2 separate regions of the Homo sapiens genome follow, and region 1 is linked to region 2. Evidence: promoter capture Hi-C in 16 types of primary human blood cells and fetal thymus (Javierre and others, 2016). All regions are on one chromosome and are shown on one strand. The core of a region is centred on a gene start or on the middle of the fragment in contact, and the rest is flanking DNA. Distances in the headings are between cores, read along the strand shown.

Region 1 (3,765 bases), core at 165-2,664, 370 kb before region 2:
TTCTTGTAGACAAGAAAACTGAGGCTCATTAAAGTGAGCCGTGACAAATATAGTATTTGAACACAAGTCTCTGACTCAAGCATCGTATTACTCCATCTTCTAGTTGCAGTTATTTTATTATTTATAACTTAAGTTCAAATACTTTCATGTAGGCAGCTTGATATTTGTTTGTTACTAAATTGTAATCTACTGCCAAGGGGAAGTCAGTCCACTACTAAGGGCAAGAATGCCAAGTGCTTCGAGCAGTGCTGTTTAAGTCTGCAATTAGTGAGAGGGCTCACTAATGAGCATAAGGAATGCTAGAAGTAAGCTTCCCTGGTGGGATGAATAGTGTGTTCACATATGGTTGGCCAGGAAAATGAACAGCTCCCTCTACCCCTGCTTGACAGAGATATAAGAATCTGGCAAGCCCAGCAGTCTCAGAATTCGGGAATCATGCCTGAGGTCTGGAATCCAGCAGCCGCAGCTAATGGCAGATTTGGTGTGCTGATGTAACATGAAGGTTAGAAGATCCTGCTGTCAGGGCCTCGCGGTGTTGGCTTCATAGTGAACCTTTCATGCAAGGTGCCTGTCAGGGTGTCTGAAATACTGGAGGGCAGGAACTTGTGCGCATAGTGCAGGCTGTATGTTTGGCCAGCTTGCTGATAGCTTTGTATATGTGGTAGAATTCAGTCTGGGACTTACCTTCCTGGTAACGTATCGCTAGGGAGGGGACATAGTGCCTACTCACCTGCAATCGTCAGTTTCCCAGTATTTCCTGCAAAGAGCCTGACAGCCTTGAATGGCTGAATTGGCTCTGGCCAGTTCAAAGCAGCATGATGCTGTGTGTGTGTGTGTGAACGGGAGCCCTCCCAGGCTGTGAGACGGCTGGCATGCGGGGATGGGGCTCCTTCACCGATCCATGCCTCCTCATTACACAGCTCTGCTTCAACTTCGTAAGCCTCCTGGATAGTAATAAGGTGCAGAAGTAACCCAGTCTGCTGCTGTTGAACTGTGACCTCGTGGCTAATTCTGCCCTTGGTGCCTGAGCTTGCCACAGTGGGAGTGCTTCACTTCAGAAGGCACAACCAGCCATCCTTTATGTAATCTGCACCATCCTAGAAAATCCTCCGATATCCTTGTCCAGAAAGACAGGTGGTCGCATGTAGACTTGCTTTTGTCCTGTGGTGAGTGGTTGTTCTGACTTATTACCTCCGTGGAATGCGAGTGTATTCCCAGTCAGGACACTTATTGTTCTGGGTCACTAGAACATGCCTTGAAGTGTTAATGTATCGAGACATGAGGCTTAAAATAGGAAATTGCATTAAGCAGATCACTTCATGTGTTATTTGGACTTGGGAAGTGCGTTAGAGGAGAATGAGGATGAGCCTTTGTGATTCAGTGTGTGCAGCGCTGATATGATGGTATATGACACCCCAAACAAGGGTGGTTTTGGTGAGACGTCGCACAGTGACTCTCCACAGTAATTTGGAGACGATTTCACAGAGCTCTGTGATTCACTCTGGTCCATGGCAGGATGGCTCCCGCTGTTTCTCAATTTAGAGCCCGTAGAGATAGTTTTGGCTCATCTCTCATTGAGTAATCGTCGAGTATGTAGAAGGCATTTAGCAAATTGGTAATGAGACTCTTCTCCTCTAAGAGCCTGGCCTTTATAAAAGGGAAAAATTGGAGAAACTTAGAGTTGTTGAAAATATGTGAAAAGTAGCCACTCTGAAAAAAGTCAAAAAGGAGGCAGCAATGACAAGAATGATCCAGGATTTTCCTATTGAGTTAGAAAGTGATCCTGTGAAAGGAAATCTCTTTCCAGAGAAGAGGTTGACCAGATGTTAAATAATAAGAATAATCATTTTCTAGCAGATACTGTGGTATGTTATGAGAGACAGTTATTGCCAGTTTTCAATACCACTGAAGAAAGGGTTAAGGACCTGGCTTCAATTTATAGAAAAGAAGTTTGTTTTTGTTTTTTTTTTTTTTTTTTTTTTAAGGCAGAGTCTTGCTCTGTCGCCCAGGCAGGAGTACAATGGCGCAATTTCGGCTCACTGCAACCTCCACCCCCTGGGTTCAAGCAATTCTCCTGCCTCAGCCTCCCGGATTGCCGGAATTACAGGCACATGCTGCCTGGCTAATTTTTGTATTTTTAGTAGAGATGGGGTTTCACCATGTTGGTCAGGCTGGTCTCGAACTCCTAACCTCAGGTGATCTGCCTGCCTCAGCCTCCCAGAGTGCTGGGGTTACAGGCCTGAGCCACCGTGCCTGGTCCTAGAAGAGAAGATTTAAATTATACATTAGGAAGAATTTCCAAACTGCAAAGACCGTGGACTATTAGCTCAGAAATTGCTAGGGTCTTGTCCCTTAAGAAAGGGTGTTGTCTAGTCTGGCGTGTATGTGTAAGCCGGCATGGAGGTGGAGGTTGTGCTAGGGAACCATTCCCTCCATCATCCCAGCAGCCCTGAGGTCCTATTTGTCAATAGCTTTTCAGGTAGGGCTAGAGAGAAGAGCCTGGTCACATAGAAGCTTTTCCAAAACACAGCTTCCCCTTGCGTAAATGTTCCCAGGGAGGAACAGAGCTTGAAGAAGATCCCCTGTGATTTTGCTCTGTCTTCTTGATTGAAAACTGCTGCTCTGTGCTCTCGTGCTTTGGCAATGCAGTCTAAGTCACTGAGCCCTGCAATATGTACAATGTTTCCAGACATCTGTGCTGGGAGTGTCCTCTGAGAGTTGCAGCACAGAGGCAGTGGACACAGGAAGCCCCTTTTTTCTCCCATGTTGCAGCGGCAGCTGATGGATGGAGCTGTGAAGTCCAAACGTGCTGGGTGCACTCCTCCCCCACAGCCTCCCCAGCTCCAGCTTGCATAACAGCCTGCTTTGGGAGGGGCTTTGTTCCAGAACCTTCTGGCAGTGCCTGGTTCAGTCCTGAGACCTTGTGTCTTAAACACGTCACAGAACACGCACATATCAGTATAATCTCTAAAAGTTGAAGAGCATTTGGTTTGGGTATTTGCCTGGGTACAGGACAAACTATGAGGCTGATGTGATCAAGAATGCTTGTCTTGTGCAATGTTGACCAATAGGCCAGTAGGACATTTGTCTCACCAATAAAGGCCTGGCTAGACTGGACATTGAAGGTGGACATAGGAGGCTTTGACTCCCACATGTCAACGATTCATATGAAAGCGCTGGGGAAGAGATTTATGAGGGGGAGAAGAGCTGTGTGGTCTCGGCCATTATGAGAAACATGTCTTATTTGTTTTAGGTCTAAAACATGTCTAAATTTGTTTTAGGCTAGGGGCTGTGGCTCACGCCTGTAATCCCAGCACTTTGGGAGGCCCTCCTCATGCACATCTCAGGGTTTTAGAAATGCCAGAAGTAGCTGTCTACACTCTGAGTATGAGGTTGACGTGGGAAGGACCTTGTGTAACTGTTCATTTCAACCCATCAGTGGCCACATAACCAGGGGGAATGACAGGTTAGCTCAGTTTCTTGCCTGGGCCCACCAGCCTTACACAAGTGGTAGCCACAGCCTGGCCCCCAAAGCCTGGCGGCCATCTGAGGGGCGTGTTCCCAGAGTTAGCCAAATTCATCACCATGGCTGGGGTGTTGGATGAATCTCTAGTTAGTATAATCATAGCTGGGTGTCTGGAACATTGTTGGGTGCTTCTCTGACCTCCATCCATTTTCCGTAATCTGCAGAAGAACCCTCAAGATGAGTAGTAGTATACTTATTTACCAAAGGGAGAACTGAGGCTGAGTAGTTGGATAACTTGC
Region 2 (3,866 bases), core at 1,036-3,535:
CAACACGGTGAAACCCCATCTCTACCAAAAATACAAAAATTAGCTGGGCATGGTGGCGTACGCCTGTAGTCCCAGCTACTCTGGAGGCTGAGGCAGGAGAATCGCTTGAACCCAGGAGGAGGAGGTTGTAGTGAGCCGAGATCGCGCCACTGCACTCCAGCCTGGGCGACAGAGCGAGACTCCCTCCCACTCCGCAAAAAAAATAAATAAATAAGAAGAAAGAAAACTGATACCCAGGGTCCTGGTGCCAGACTTTACACTACTGCAGCTATCCTGGGTGATGTCCAGAGATGAACGGAATCAGAATTACCTGGAGGGTTTGGGGAATCACAGGTTGCTGGGCCCCACCCCCAGAGTTTCTGATTCCTTAGGTCTGGGTGGGGCCTGGGAGTCTGCATCTCTAAAAGATTCCCAGGTGACACGCTGATTCTACTGGTCTTGGGATCCACTCTGGAACCACTTGTTGACTGACCTCTTCCTCCTGTTTAAAACTGACATGATCCTATCTTGAATGATAGTGTAACAATTAGAAAGATAAAATAAGGAAATGATGCGCTTGAAAGTGTAGACACTGATTTCCCTTGTGATTGATTAATTGAGATTGGGATTTGGGATAAAAGGAAACCTAGGATTCTGCCTTAGCCAACCAGTCGGGGGCGGGAGGTGGGCAGGAAATGCAGGAGAAATAAGATTTTGGGGTGAAAACAATGAGCTAGGGTTTGGATTTGCTTGAATTTTCAATGCAGTACTCATATATCTTTCTCACTTTTAAAAGTCTGTGAGGTGGACATGGACTGGCTTCGTCGGTTTGCCAAGGTTTAATTTTGTGCCTTAAATGGGCACTTGAGAGCTTTGTAAAAACCGATGTGTTTGCTGGCCCCGTGTTTACGGGCCTTTGTGATCTCCGCGTTCGCATCCAATCTGGCCCTTGGGCTCCGAGAAGGTACACGTGTGTGTAGGGCAAGGTCCAACCAGTGGGGCCAGGGATCTGAGCAACAAGCGCGCCCTGTGTCCTTTGTGGCAGGGACCGCTTGTGGACGGCGGATGAGGATGAGGCGCCCAGATCTTCCCGAAATATTTCCTAATCGTTCATCATGATGTTATGTTGTTGTTTTCACAAAGGGAATTAATATTGGCCTCCTTTTCTACAAATCTTGCCAACACTGCGTGAAATGTTTTCGTTGCTTCTCTATTCCCAAGGTTTCGTATTATTTTACCAAGTCGGAAAATGGACGGCGCTTAAACTGTTTTTTCCCTGAAAGGAAGAGGGCTGTAATCACTAAAGTGTTTTAAAATCTCCAGCGCAAAAGCCTGCGGTGCCACAGGGACGAGGCCTGGAGAGCAGTCGCTCCTAGAACCGGGGCGCGAAGGGCACCCCCGCCTCCAGCACGCGCCCTCCGCCCTCCCGGCCTCGCTCCCCCCGGAGTGGGGGCCTCGCCGGCCCCTGGTCCCCGTCACTCAGCAACGTCGGGTCAGCCTTCGCCGGGTTAGTGGCGACGCGGCCGCGCGAATTCGCACAGGTATTCCGCGTTTCTCCGCCGTTCCCCGCCTTGGCCGGAGGCTTCCGAGGCGTCCCTTGGTGCAGGGTGGGAAGCGGCCCGCGCCCCAACGGCCCAGGCGCTGGAGCTCACCCCGAGCGAGGGCGGTACCTGAGGCTTCGGGGAGCCCGCGCTGACCGCGGCCCCGTCCCCAGACCCCTCCAGCAACCCCGGCCCCGCCCCAGACCCCTCCGGTGATTTCCCCCCCGGCCCCGCCCCGCAGATCCCTCCAGTGATCTCCCCCCCGCCGCGCCCCCCAGACCCCCCCCCAGTGATTTACCCCCCGGCCCCGCCCCACAGACCCCTCCAGTGGTCCCCCGGCCACGCGGGCTCCGGGGGGGCGGGGCGGGGGCGCGGCCCTTTGCTGGGACAGGGGGCGTGGGCCCGAGTAGCGGGCGGGGGGCGCGGGCCCGGGCTGGGGCGGGGGCGGGGGCGGGGAGCGCGGGAGCCCCGGTGACGCAGCAGTGACGTCGGTGGCAGCGGGCGGGATTTCCCGGGCGAGACCCCGCGGCGGAGTGGGCGCGGCCAGCGTGGAACGGGGGCGAGGGTCGCAGAGTCGCCGGCTCTCCCTTCCCCAGTCTGGGCCCCCACGGCACAGGGGGCCGAGCAGAAGCCCCCAGCGTCCAGGGCCGGGGGAGGGTCCGCCTGCGCCCCCAGGCCCGCGTGGTCGGGCCCTGCAGGGCGGGAGGCGCGGCGCGGGGCGGGGCCGGTGACGGGACGCGGAGACCCCGCGGGCGGCGGGAGGGGCACGAGGCGCGCGTTTGCACCCGAGCCCGGCCCGCGCCCCGATGCGGAGCGATGCCGCTCGGCCTGGCCGCCCCCCGCGAGCACCGCGCTGCAGACGAAGCCCGCGCGTGATCCCGCTCCGGGTAAGTGGGCGCCCGGCCGGAGCCCCGGGTGTCCGCGGGGAGAGCCCAGCCCGGTGCAGCCAGACGCGGAAGGGAAACTCGGGGTGAAAGTCTCCGGACCTAGGGAGACGGCTCTGGCGCCGGTGTGGTCCTCACGCCGCCAGCTGCTGCTGCACGCGACACAAAGACCTGTGGTTCCCTCGGCCTCCTCTCCCGGGACCTCCCGCCGGGCCCCGGGGAAGCCCGCGCGCGGGTGTGGACAGCCCCCTCGGAGCGCGTCCAGGGGCTTCCGGGGCTGGGGGCGCCCGGTCCCTCCGGCATGAGGCAGGCGGGGGCTCGGGGGTCCCCTCTTCCATTTGTAGGTCACAGAGCGTTTGCTGTTTTCCCAGCGGGGACGTCCCCCGTGGAAAAGGACCTCAGTGGCAGGAGATGGCGTGGCTGGTTGGGCGTTTTCTTTGGGGAAATGTTTCTGGCGAGTGCCTGAGGAAGCCCTCCTGGCTCCCCAGCAGCCCAGACGCCGCCTCGGGAGCACTCGGGGTGACGCTGGAGCCACCGCAGCTGAGGGTGGTTTTCCTCACCTCCTTGATGGCGTCTGTCCCCGAGGCTGGTGCTGAACTGAAATGTGCTTCGTTCGCCGCGCGCGCCCGGCAGCAACCGGGGAGCTTTGTTTGGCTTGATTTTTTAAATTGCCTTGGAAATAACGCGAAACGGCGGGAGGGTGAAGTGGGGAGGAGGACAGAGCGTGGTGGGGAAAGACTCCTTAATTTAAGATTTGCTTCATTTCGAGTATTTGGGGCTAAGGTGTTAGGAAACCCGAAAATGTTAAAGTTTGATCAAGTAATAAAGTGGATGATGGACGCCGGGCCTCCCACCGTCTCCCCGGCCCCGCGGCTGCCGCGTCTCTCCTCTACCCGTCGCCTCCCAGGACTGTCAAATGCTGGCACCGGGCCCGTGCCTCTCAGCCGGAGCAAAAGGCCGCCTAGGCTGCGCCCGTGTGCTCCATTAAAACGTGCCAGTCCTGTCGTCTGCTCATGAGTGAGGTGTGCCGCTTCCCACAGTGGACAGGAAATTTGCAGCGGCGAATGCCTCACAGTAGCCATGGGGGACCTGGGCTCTGCGGCCGGCTTCTCGATTCCTCCCGCAACTCCTTTTCCTGATTTTTGTATGAGGCGGGGGAGGGGAACCAGCCGCCATCTGATCTGGCCCTGTTCCCTGCAAGAGGCGACTGGGGGGACAACTAAGTTGATAAATGGAAAGCCTTTTCCAGCCCGGAGAAACAGACAGAGGACCTATAAACTGGATTGTTTTTGAAATGTAGGGTTTGCTCAGTGACCGGTCATGATAAGAGATGGCTGTGGCACTTAATAAATAGTAGGTGTAAATGCAAATGCAAGGTTTACAGTGATGCCTTGCCTGTTAATGAGCAGCCTCACCATGGGGTTAGTTAGGCTGAAATGACTATTTAGGACAATGGACTTCC

Evidence for each region. The method cuts DNA at HindIII sites, captures the fragments that hold promoters and counts their contacts. A CHiCAGO score of 5 or more calls a contact.
Region 1: a fragment that was not itself captured here is called in contact with the fragment with the promoter of GNG4 in region 2 in 1 of 17 cell types (neutrophils); the score reaches 5.5 in neutrophils.

The regions. Positions count from the first base shown.
Region 1 is chr1:236,018,254-236,022,018 of GRCh38, reverse strand. The region is part of intron 9 of NID1 (nidogen 1); the gene reads left to right. Among named protein-coding and RNA genes, the nearest start is that of NID1, 45 kb to the left of the region's middle. The HindIII fragment of the contact is 2,204 bases long and covers 313-2,516 here.
Region 2 is chr1:235,648,203-235,652,068 of GRCh38, reverse strand. It overlaps GNG4 (G protein subunit gamma 4), which reads left to right and starts at 2,285. Exons shown (of 4, transcript NM_001098722.2): 1 at 2,285-2,407. RefSeq lists enhancers at 469-1,320, 3,786-3,866 and a silencer at 2,311-2,420. The HindIII fragment of the contact is 10,274 bases long and covers 1-3,866 here.